Linked DNA regions of Homo sapiens: regions 1, 3 and 4 are each linked to region 2. Evidence: promoter capture Hi-C in 16 types of primary human blood cells and fetal thymus (Javierre and others, 2016). All regions are on one chromosome and are shown on one strand. The core of a region is centred on a gene start or on the middle of the fragment in contact, and the rest is flanking DNA. Distances in the headings are between cores, read along the strand shown.

What was found. The method cuts DNA at HindIII sites, captures the fragments that hold promoters and counts their contacts. A CHiCAGO score of 5 or more calls a contact.
Region 1: a fragment that was not itself captured here is called in contact with the fragment with the promoter of GPR45 in region 2 in 1 of 17 cell types (non-activated CD4 T cells); the score reaches 5.0 in non-activated CD4 T cells.
Region 3: a contact is called between a fragment that was not itself captured here and the fragment with the promoter of GPR45 in region 2, in 6 of 17 cell types (total CD8 T cells, non-activated CD4 T cells, total CD4 T cells and 3 more). The highest score is 7.8, in total CD8 T cells.
Region 4: a fragment that was not itself captured here is called in contact with the fragment with the promoter of GPR45 in region 2 in 4 of 17 cell types (naive CD8 T cells, non-activated CD4 T cells, total CD4 T cells and 1 more); the score reaches 10.0 in naive CD8 T cells.

What each region holds. Positions count from the first base shown.
Region 1 is chr2:106,581,942-106,584,829 of GRCh38, reverse strand. No RefSeq gene overlaps it. Among named protein-coding and RNA genes, the nearest start is that of CD8B2, 96 kb to the right of the region's middle. The HindIII fragment of the contact is 4,102 bases long and covers 1-2,888 here.
Region 2 is chr2:105,240,355-105,243,054 of GRCh38, reverse strand. It overlaps GPR45 (G protein-coupled receptor 45), which reads right to left and starts at 1,312. Exons shown (of 1, transcript NM_007227.3): 1 at 1-1,312. The coding sequence starts at 1,196. The coding sequence ends at 78. The HindIII fragment of the contact is 10,787 bases long and covers 1-1,523 here.
Region 3 is chr2:106,601,218-106,603,917 of GRCh38, reverse strand. No RefSeq gene overlaps it. Among named protein-coding and RNA genes, the nearest start is that of CD8B2, 120 kb to the right of the region's middle. The HindIII fragment of the contact is 1,043 bases long and covers 870-1,912 here.
Region 4 is chr2:106,555,786-106,558,485 of GRCh38, reverse strand. No RefSeq gene overlaps it. Among named protein-coding and RNA genes, the nearest start is that of CD8B2, 70 kb to the right of the region's middle. The HindIII fragment of the contact is 1,511 bases long and covers 612-2,122 here.

The sequences.
Region 1 (2,888 bases), core at 262-2,761, 1.3 Mb before region 2:
TGGAGCTGCCCGCCAGTCCCCCAGGCCGCAGGTCTGCACTCCTCAGCCCTTGGGCGGTGGAGGTGACCCAGCGCCCCTGAGCAGGGGGTAGCGCCCCAGGGCAGGGGGCAACGCGGGTCAGGGAGGCTCGGGCTGCGCGAGAGCCCACTGCGGGAAGGTGGGGCGCTCGAGCGTGGCGGGCTGCAGGTCCCGATCCCTGCCCCACGGGGAGGCGGCTGAGGTCCAGCGAGAATTCGACCAAGGCGTGGGCGGGCCCACACTGCTGGGGGACCTGGCGCGCCCTCCACAGCTGCTGGCCCGGGTGCTAAGCCCCTCACTGCCCGGGAGTGCGCGGCCCGCGGAGCCCGCGCTCACCTGGAACTTGCGCTGGCAAGCACCGCCCTCAGTCCCGGTTCCCGCCGGCGCCTCTCCCTTCACACCTCCCCGCAAGCAGAGGGAGCTGACTCCGGCCTCAGCCAGCACAGAGAAGGGCTCCCACAGTGCAGCGGCGGGCCGAAGGGCTCCTCAAGCGCGGCCAGAGTGGGCACCGAGGCCCAGGAGGCGCTGAGAGTGAGCGAGGGCTGCTAGGCTGCTGTCACCTCTCACTGCCACCACATCAGTGGGCCCTTCTTACTTAAAAGGTGTCCGACAGCTAACCTGAGGACTGACTATTCTGTTAACAGATCTGCCTTAGATGCCTAAGGCATCCCTGCCTTTGAAGAGCTGAGGTTCGCTCCATCCTAAGCCCGCCAAGGCCTCTTCCAGCTTCTGTGTTTCCACGCACAGGCACCTGACGCACTTGGGCCATGACAGGTGAGGTGCTGTTTTAAAGAAGCCTCCTAATTCTTGAAAAGCACTGATGGAAAGACATAGCCTCTTTGTGGATTGTGCTATGTTTGATGGGAGTGCATACCTGAGGCCACAGTTTTGACACCAGGAAAGGAGGGAACCTGAGGTACAGCAGTCACAGGAGGCATGCAGGACCTGCCAGGAGCATTGCAGAGAAGTGGAGCCGGAGCCTGACGCCCTGGGACTTCCCTCCACTCTATTCCTTGCCATGGGCATGGCCAATGGTCTTCTAGTGTGGGCAGGGAAAGTATCCGCACTGATCATCTGAAGGATGCAAAATCAGCACAATCACAAAAAGGCTTCATGGAAGGACTCATCATTCAGCAAATGATTTATCACTAGCTAGGCGCCAGGACTCTGTTTATCTCTTTATCTAGATCAACAGTACTCCCAAGGCCAAAAGCCATAAAGGAGAAGATGCATGGACATAACCAGAGTATTTCAAAATGCCTTCAAGACAAAATTATTTTCAAAACATAGGCAAATGCAAAAGTCAAGTGAAAACTGGAGAAACTGTGTTTACAAGGAATCTAACGAAAACCCAATTTCCTTATGACATAAAAAAAGTATCAAATCAATAGCAAAAAGTAAAACAAAAACCTAATAAAAATAAAGCAAATGACATGATAGGACACAATCCTAAATAGATAAATACATAAATAGATGACTTTAAATAAGTTCTTAGCAATTTCAACCTCACATTTTAAAATTCACGAACTAGTTATTATAAGAGATCCTTTTTCACATATCCAAGTAAAAATTGTTTTACCAGCTTGACCATACACAATGTTTGCAGTGTTGGAGGGAAAGGTACCCTTACACACTGTTAGAGGTAAACAGGCGCCGCCTCTTTGGAATTTGGAATTTGTCAAATACGTAAGCATTTTAAATGCATGTAACCAATGACCCAGCTATCATCCTTTCTAAAATTGGTTTCACAGATAAACTCATTCCTTTTAAATAACTGATTTAATAAGTGACCTTAGGGCACAGATTATTTGACAAGAATATTTATTGTCTACTTGAATTCAGAGATTTTGGCACTGTGCAAGGCACACATGGGGAGTCTATAGATATGTGAATAAATAGCATCCCACCAGACAGCTAAGGACAGAATCATTGCCTGGAATTCTTTCCTCCGGGTATTGTCAATGCGATGTAAGAATATAAAACAAATAATGAGAGAATTCTAAAGCGAGAGGAAATAGAAAACGCTAACCCAAGGGGTTTGGCCGCTTTACCTCATCCTGACTCTAGATGGCAGCATCCGCTCACTTCCCCCAGCTGGGAGACTAGCTCCAGAAGCAGCCTGAATCCGAGCGAAATTGGAAGTTTTCCATGTAGGAGAATCAGCCGGGCACGGGCATCTGCTCAAGCCCCACTTGCAGTTAGGAGGATTCTCCCCACTTGAACGAACTCACAGAAGCAGATATCTGACCCCACTTTGGTCCGTTTACTCCATACATACAAGCCAAGGCATTTGTTTCTTTTTTTTTTCTTTTTTTTTTTTTTTTTTTTGTGGTGGAGGGGCGCTGTGATTTGTTTGGTTATGAGCCAGAAAAATGCCAGATATGTCCTGAGTGCTTCCCAAGCTCAATCACAGATAGGCACTTCCTTGACCTAACTGAGCTTCAAAAACGCATCAGCAAAAACACCCACGTAAGATGTCCGATGGGAGGCACCTCGGGACATATCCTAGGCAACAGCAGGGAGGCCCGCTTCCTCCTGCCGGCCGCGAGCAGCGCAGCACCTCTAGGGCCCGCGGAGAGAGCGAGGTCTCCCTGCCATGCGTGGGGTGGAGGCGGTGCTGTGCAGGACTCCCCTGCGGTCCACCTAGACTCTCAGCTTTAAAACTCCATTCCCAGGCTAAAAGGAAAAGAAAGCACTGGGAGGAGAAAACGGACAAGAAGTTCAAAACTCAGGTTATGGAAAAAGAGATAAATGAATCCTCACAGAAGCAATTTAGACTAGAGGCTTGAAAAGCCCAGGGTTATCTGGAAGAAATGAGATTTCCCCTAAGCATAAAACCTATGGTATGGAAATGAAACTGATTGAAGAAA
Region 2 (2,700 bases), core at 63-2,562:
ATGCCAGGGAACAGAGCAGGACAGATCCACCCTGGGACTGGGGCTCAGCTGCCCCTTCTCTGTGGCCCCCTGACCCCCTAAACCGCAGACTGGTTTTCATTGCACACGTAGACTGTGCTTGGCTGGATTCTCCTTCGGATCCGCTCAGGCACTTTGGGGAGGATTTGGAAGGTCTGGGGCAGCAACTCTATGCAGGCCTCGCGGAATTTTTTGATTCTCCAGCAGTAGACGATGGGGTTGAAGACGGACTTGAGGTAACTGAGCCACAGGACGCAGGTGCTGGTGGCGTAGAAGGAGGAACCGCAGTAAAAGCGCTGGCTAAACACAGACAGGAGGCTGTAGACGGAGTGGGGCAGCCAGCAGAGGGAGAAGCCCACGAAGAGGATCAGGATGGTGGTGAAGGCCTTGGTCTTGAAGCTCAAGTCCACGCTGACCTGTTGCTGCCGCTGCAGGCGCCGCAGGCCCGCCCTGGTGAGCTGCCGCAGGTCCAGGCTGTCCGACTGGTTGTGCACGCGCACGGCGTTCTTGCGGACCGTGTTGAGGATGCACATGTAGGCGCACAGCATGACGCCAAAGGGCGCGAAGAACACGGCCACCACCAAGGTGACCACGTAGGCGCGGTCAGCGGGGAGCTCCGTGTAGCCCAGCACGCACTGTGGGGCCCGCGCCGGCACCTCCACCAGCGTCCAGCCCGTGAGCGAGGGCCCCGCGATGCAGAAGGACAGCACCCAGGAGACCGCGATGATCACCTTGGCCCTGCGCGGGTTCAGCTTGTCCTGGCGCTGGACGATGATGAGGAAGCGGTCCACGCTGATGATGAGCAGGATGGCCACGCCCTCCAGGACAAAAAACCAGTAGAGCGTGGCTGAGAGGCGGCAGAAGTGGTCCCCAAAGTGCCAGCGCACGGTGATGAGGGTGACGGCGGTGAAGGGCATGCAGCAGAGGGACAGCATGATGTCGGAGAAGGCCAGGGTGGCCAGCAGCAGGTTGATGGCCGAGCGCATAGCCGGCCTCTGGTACACGATGATGCAGACCACAGTGTTGCCCAGGAACCCCACCACGGTCATCAGCAGCATCACTATGGCCAAGGAGATCCTGAGGGGTGCGGGCAACTGGGTGGACCCCGAGTCTGAGGCGTTGCTGGTGTTCAGCAGCAGGTATGTGTAAGCCTCAAGGGACGTGCTGTTGCAGGCCATCGTGGAGAGACCCTTGGAGCTGGGACAGAAATGGCCGGGAGGGCTCCCCTCAGCACTTGGGTGGCTGCCATTCTTTGTCTGCTGGCTGCATCTTCCTGGATGTCTGTGGACCTCTGGGGCACTGGAATGGTCTTGGGGAGAAATGTCCGTCTTTGTGAGCACTAGCTGGGATTTGCGATTCATGGATCACATCCTAAGCATCTCTGTGGAGAGCGACTCTGTGCACAGCTTCGTGCTTGGACCCTCTGTAGTGGACAGCAAGCAAAAGTACAAAAGAGAAGGGGGTTAGAGTTTCCAAACGCGTTGAAGAAAGCACGCGTTTAAGCTTTACAGGTGTTTCTAAACAAGTTTATTTACCACGTGGGACAAAGCTTGATATTCACAAATACTGTCTGAGTCTTGTCAAGCAGCCCAGAAAAACCTAATCAGCTATCTTCTGAGGAAACTGAGGAAGTACACTTTGTAGTTAGTGTTTATGTAATAACTTGAGTTTTCAGCAACCTGTCGGAATGAAGCCTTGGTCTAGCCAACTAACGTTAGAATCCTGCTCCACAAGAGAAAGGTTTTGCTTGTTTCATTCTCTGCTATCTCCCAGTACTGACAACAGTGGCTGGCATGCAGTAAGTGTCCTTGTTGAGGACACTTGGATGCTTGTTGAGTAGATGAATAAGTGATAGTTGATGCTGCTGCTATAATATTTGTTTAGCTTTAAAAAACCCCACTTCATCGAGGAATGACTGACATGTCAAAAGCTGTACAAATTTACATCTCAATATACCAGAAACCCATCACCACCAAGGCCAAAAACATATCCCACTCCCCCTGCCAAAGCTCTCTCCTGCCATTTTTCTAGTATTATCATTTTGTTTTGGTGGTAAGAATACTTCACCTAAGATCTGCCCTCTTAGCAAATTTTAAGTATACATTTTTAAGTTTTAATTTTTTAAAAGAAATTGTAAGTCTGTTTGTTTAACTTTATTTGATAAGTGTAAATTCACATGGATAAGTGTAAATTCACATGGAGTTATAATAATAAATACTATGGTGAAATTCTGTGTGTCCTTCACCCAGTTTTCCCTAATGGTAACATCTTGGATAACTGTGGGGCTGCTATACTATTACTTCTGGAAGCACAGACTGGGAGAAGGGAACTTTCCCCAAAGGTAAGGCCTTTTAAAATACAATGTTAGCTGGGTGCAGTGGCTCATGCCTATAATCCCAGCACTTTGAGAGGCAGAGACAGGAGGATTGCTTGAGGCCAGGAGTTCAAGACCTGCCTGGGCAACATAGAGAGATCCCATCTCTACACACACAAAAAAATGAGCCAGGCTTCCATCTATAGTCCCTGCTACTCAGGAGGCCGAGGCAGGAGGATTGCTCAAGCACAGAAGTTCGAGGCTGTCGTGAGCTAAGAAGGTGTCACTGTACTCCAGCCTGGGTAACAGAGTGAGACCCTGTCTCTTAAAAAAAAAGTAAATGAAATGAGCTTTTATTCCTTACATTC
Region 3 (2,700 bases), core at 142-2,641, 1.4 Mb before region 2:
TCTCAGGCCTGCAATTCCCAGGGAGCCTTAGGCTCTTATGTGTGCATCCTCTGGGGCTTTTTAAAGTGATGATTAAAAAGGTTCCATTTGGAGGCTGGCAGCATGCAGAGCTCCATGAACTCATATCCACTGATAAAAGCATAACTAGTAGAAACTATTAAAAAAAAAAAAAAACCAAAGCATCTAAAACCTTGGAAATTGTCCTAAGGAACAATTTAGCTAAAGAAGAATTACCCAAGAATAATTTATTCAAATCTACTAAACTCAAGTAAAATAGTGAAGATCTATAGCTCTTAAGCCACAAACTGCTCTCTCTCTCCTGCTACACAGCTTGACAGGAGCTCTGCTCCACATGAGTGTAACAAAGAAGAGGGCCCTTTACTCCTGATTTTCCAGAAAACTGCTATGTGTCTTCCCAGGATGGGCAGGCTGCCACTATTTCTCTTATCCTCCAACTCAACCTGCAGAGACTAATTTCTGGTGAGTGTGGCCAAGAAGTCAAAACTTATACTCTAAAAAAACTACAAAACATTGTTTTAAAAATTATAGAAAATCAAAATAAATGGGAAATAAACATAAATGAATCAGGAGATTTGGCATTAGTATGGTGATACAGTTTGGATGTTTGTCCCCTCCAAATCTCATGCTGAAATGTAATCTCTAATGTTGGAGGTGGAGCCTGGTGGAAGGTGTTTGGGTCATACAGTGGATCTCTCATGAATGGCTTGGTGCTGTCCTTGTGATAATGAGATTTTGCTCTAAGTTCTTGCAAGATCGGATGGATTAAAAATGTGTGGCACCTCAACCCTCTCTCTCCCTTGCTCCCACTCTCACCATGTGATGTGCCTGCCTTACCATGATTATAAGCTTCCTAAGACCCCCATCAGAAGCCAATCAGATGGTGGTGTCATGCTTGTACAGTCTGCACAACTGTGATCCAACTGAATCTCTTTTCTTTATAAATTACCCAGTCTCGGGTATTCCTTTATAGTAATGAAAAAATGGACTAACACTGAAAATTACTGCCAAGGGGTGGGGTGTTGCTGTCAAGATACCTGAAAATATGGAAGCAGCTTTGCAACTGGGTAACAGGCAGAGGCTGGAAGAGTTGGGAGGACTCAGAAGAAGATGGCAAGATGAGGGAATATTTGGAACTTCTTAAAGATTGGTTAAACGGTTGTGACCAAAATGCTGACAGAGATATGAACAGTGAAGGCTGTGCTGATGAATTCTCAGATGGAAATGCAGAAGTTATTAGAAATTACAGTAAAGGTCGCCCCTGTTACATCCCTGCAAAGAACTTGGCTGCATTTATGTCCATGTCCCAGAGATCTATGGAAGTTTGAACTTAAGAGTGATGGCTTAGGGTATCTAATGGAATAAATTTATAAAGAGCAAAGCATTCAAGATGTGGCTGGACTGTTTCTAACAACCTATGATCAGATACAGAAGCAAAGAAATGACTTAAAGTTGGAAGCAGAGCATAAAAGTTCAGCCTAGCCATGTGGCACAGAAAGTAAAACCATTTTCAGAAAAGGAATGTAAGTAGGCTATGTAGCAACCATTTGCTAAGGAGATTCGCATGACTAAAAGAGAGTCAAGTGCTAATATCCGAAACAATGGGAAAAAGGCTGTGGAAACATTTCAGAGATCTTAGAGACAACACATTACATCACACGCCCAGAGGCCTAGGAGGAAAGAATGGTTTCAGGGGTCAGGTCTGGGGCCTTGTTGCCCTGCTCACCCTCAGGACACTGTTTCCTGAATCCCAGCGGCTCTAGCTACAGCTGAGGCTCAAAGGGCCTCCAGTACAGCTTGTGTCTCTGTTCTGAAGGGCACAAGTCATAAGCCTTGGTGGCTTCCACATGGTGTTAAGCCTATAGTTGCACAGAATATAAGCATGAAAGAAGCTTGGCAGCTTCCCCCTAGATTTCAGAGGAGGTATGGGAAATCCTGGGTGCCCAGGCAAAAGCCAGCCATAGGGGAAGCTCCCACAGAGAGCCTCTAGTAAGGCAGTGATGAGGGGAAATGTGGGGTTGGAGTCCCCACACAGAGTCCCCACTGGGGCACTGCCTAGTGTAGCTGTGAGAAGAGGGCCACTATCTTCCAAACCCCAGAATAGAGATCCACCAACAGCTTGCACCTGGAAAAGCCAAGGCACTCAACACCAGCCGGTGAGAACAACCACAGGGGCTGACCCTGCAAAGCCTCAGGGGCAGGGCTGCCCAAGGCCTTGGGAGCCCACTTCTGACACTACTGTGCTCTGGATGTGGGATGTGAAGTCAAAGGAGATTATTTTGTAGCTTTAAGATTTAATAAATGCCCTGCTGGGTTTCCAACTTGCATGGGACTTATAGCCCCTTTCTTTAGGTGAATTTCTCCCTTTTGGAACAGGAATGTTTACCCAATGCTGGTACCTGCACTGTCTCTTGGAAGAACATAACTTGTTTCAGTTTTATAGGCTCTTAGTGGGGGAAAAAAAAAAAAATCTCCAGATGAGACTTGGGAATTAGGACTTTCAAATTAAAACTGAAACGAATTAAGACTTTGGGGAACTATTGAGAATGGATGATTATATTTTGCATTGTGAGAAGAACACGAGATTTGGCAGGAGCAGGGTGGAATGATATACTTTGGATGTTTGTCCCCTCCAAATCTCATATTTAAACGTAATCTCCAGTGTTGGAGGTGGGGCCTGGT
Region 4 (2,700 bases), core at 118-2,617, 1.3 Mb before region 2:
ACTTTATTTCTATTATTATTACATTGTGATATATAATGAAATAATTATACAACTCACCATAATGTGGAATCAGAATCAATGGGAGCCCTGAGCTTGTTTTCCTGCAACTGATGATATTATGTGGGGGTGATGGGAGACAATGACAGATCATCAGGCATTAGATTCTCATAAGGAGCGCGCAACCTAGATCCCTCCTGCTTGCAGTTCACAATAGGGTTTGTGCCCCTGTGAGAATCTGATGCCACTGCTGATCTGGCAGGAGGCAGAGTTCAGGTGATAATGTGAGCCATGGGAGCAGCTATAAATACAGATGAAGCTTTCCTTGCTCACCTGACACTCAACTACTGCTGTGTGGCCTGGTTCCTAACAGGGCACAGACCACCACAATTGGGACCACAGACCATCCTAACATCCTAACAGGGCACAGACCACCACAATTGGGACCACAGACCATCTACTCTGCTCCCAATTGACCAGCCATGGCAGCAAATAAAAAGGAGCGGGCACTGCCTTGCAGCCCATCCCGAATGCTTGCATAGTTTATCTGAGTGTGAAATAACTAGGCCAGGCGGGTGGGGACAACCATCAGCATAAACACAAGATGGAAAGCTTCCATCAGCAGCAGGGATGCTTTTGTTTTCATGAAAATGACACTCTCTTGTTAAAAGCTGAATTAAAGAATAGTCGGTGAACCCCTTCTCAGTGACAAATTAACCTTCTCAGAACACCAAGTTTTTACATAGGGGGTCCTGGAAAAGGGGAGAATACTCAATGCTCTCTCGTTACCTTCATCATTGGGAAGTGAAAAGAACATGGTTTGAGCTAAGGATGGGATTCTCAGGAGGCAACACGATTTATAAAATAAACTAACTTGTTTATTTAACTTTAGAAAAGAGAAAATTGTCCGGGCTCAGTGGCTCACGCCTGTAATCCCAGCACTTTGGGAGGCCGAGGAAGGTGGATCACAAGGTCAGGATATCGAGACCATCCTGGCTAACACGGTGAAACCCTGTCTCTACTAAAAATACAAAAAAATTAGCCAGGCGTGGTGGTGGGCCCCTGTAGTCCCAGCTACTCGGGTGGCTGAGGCAGGAGAATGGCGTGAACCTGGGAGGCGGAGCTTGCAGTGAGCTGAGATCGCGCCCTTGCACTCCAGCCTGGGTGACAGAGCAAGACTCCACCTAAAAAAGAAAAAAAAAAAAAGAAAAAGAAAAAAGAAAATTAAGAGATCTTATCAAAAATCACAGATTTCACCTTCACCCCACCCCATTCCAAAATCCATCTCTTTGATATCTTTTTAAAGGCCTTGGACTTAACATCAGCTTCTCTTCTATCCTGCCAACTTCACCCCCTCCTCCCTGGCATTTAGGACTTTTCCAGTTTGCTCCCTCTTCTCCCTCTTGAGTTCTCTGGGGAAAATATTATCTCCTTTGATTCAACAATTCTACTTCCAGGAATCAATGCTTATAAAACATAAAGAGATGAGGCTGAAGATATATATACATGGAAGTGCATCAGTGACCTTTTAATAATACGGAAAAACTTCTAAGTTCCACACACTGTGCTAAGGGCTTTTCATGCCTTTTCATTATCTCATTTAATCTTCACAAAAATGTGTGGTGAGTATTATTATTCCCATTTTTATAGGAATAAAGAAACAGATACAAAGAAGTCAAAAAACTTATTCAATATTATATCCAGATTTGTCTAACTTCTAATCCCATGGTTTGAGCTAAGGATGAGATTCTCAGGATGCAACATGAATCATACAAAATAAACCATGCATTATCTCATGTAGAGCTCCTACACTATACTACAACATTTATAAATGTTATAATACTACACATTTTATAAACTATGATACCACATTTGTTAATCTTGTAAGTGTTGGTGTGTGTGTGTGTGTGTGTGTTCGTGTAGAGATGATAGAGCTACAGATAGAGTTAGAGATATGGATACAGATACACACATAGGGACAAGAGTTAAAGGATATACACCAAAATGTTTATATTGGTTATTTAATAGGGATGGAAAACTTTATATTTTTAAAAATTTTATTTTTCTGTGTTTTTCAAATGTTCCTTATTACATTCAATTTAATTCAGCAAAAATTTTTTAAGCTTTAATTATATGCCTATCACATAGTAACATATAAACAAGTATTACTCTTTAATGCAATAGAATTGTATTTCTATTTTACATCTAATTGTATGGTGGAAACACAGAAAACAATACAAGCTAGCAAAAATGAATGGATTCTCTCTTATGCAATTGGTAGCATTCGTTTACAATGCTCATCTTAATGTCTTATTCATAAGTTATGATATGATATAAATGGCTAATAATAGCAAAAGCAAGTAAATAAAATTCTACTTCTGTGTTGTCTGTTGGGAAAAAAAATTACTCTTAAAGCAGTCTTTCTGAAAAATTTCCCTAAGTCTGTGTTTCCAAATTCAGTGTCAGCAAAGGTATTTAACTCTTAGAGTGGGCAAAAAGGAGCTCATCCAGAAATAAAATTTTGATCATCCCAAATGGAGGGAGACAGAAGAGAAAAAGAATGCGAGTTAATGGATGAAGGGCAAAGCACTGCGTCTGAAATATGAGAGGTGTGGGAACACAGCATGTGGAAGCCATATCTCCATTTGTGTGTCCATCGTGTGGCACCGAGCTCTCAGGGCATCTGCATGCCTGTTCTCCAAA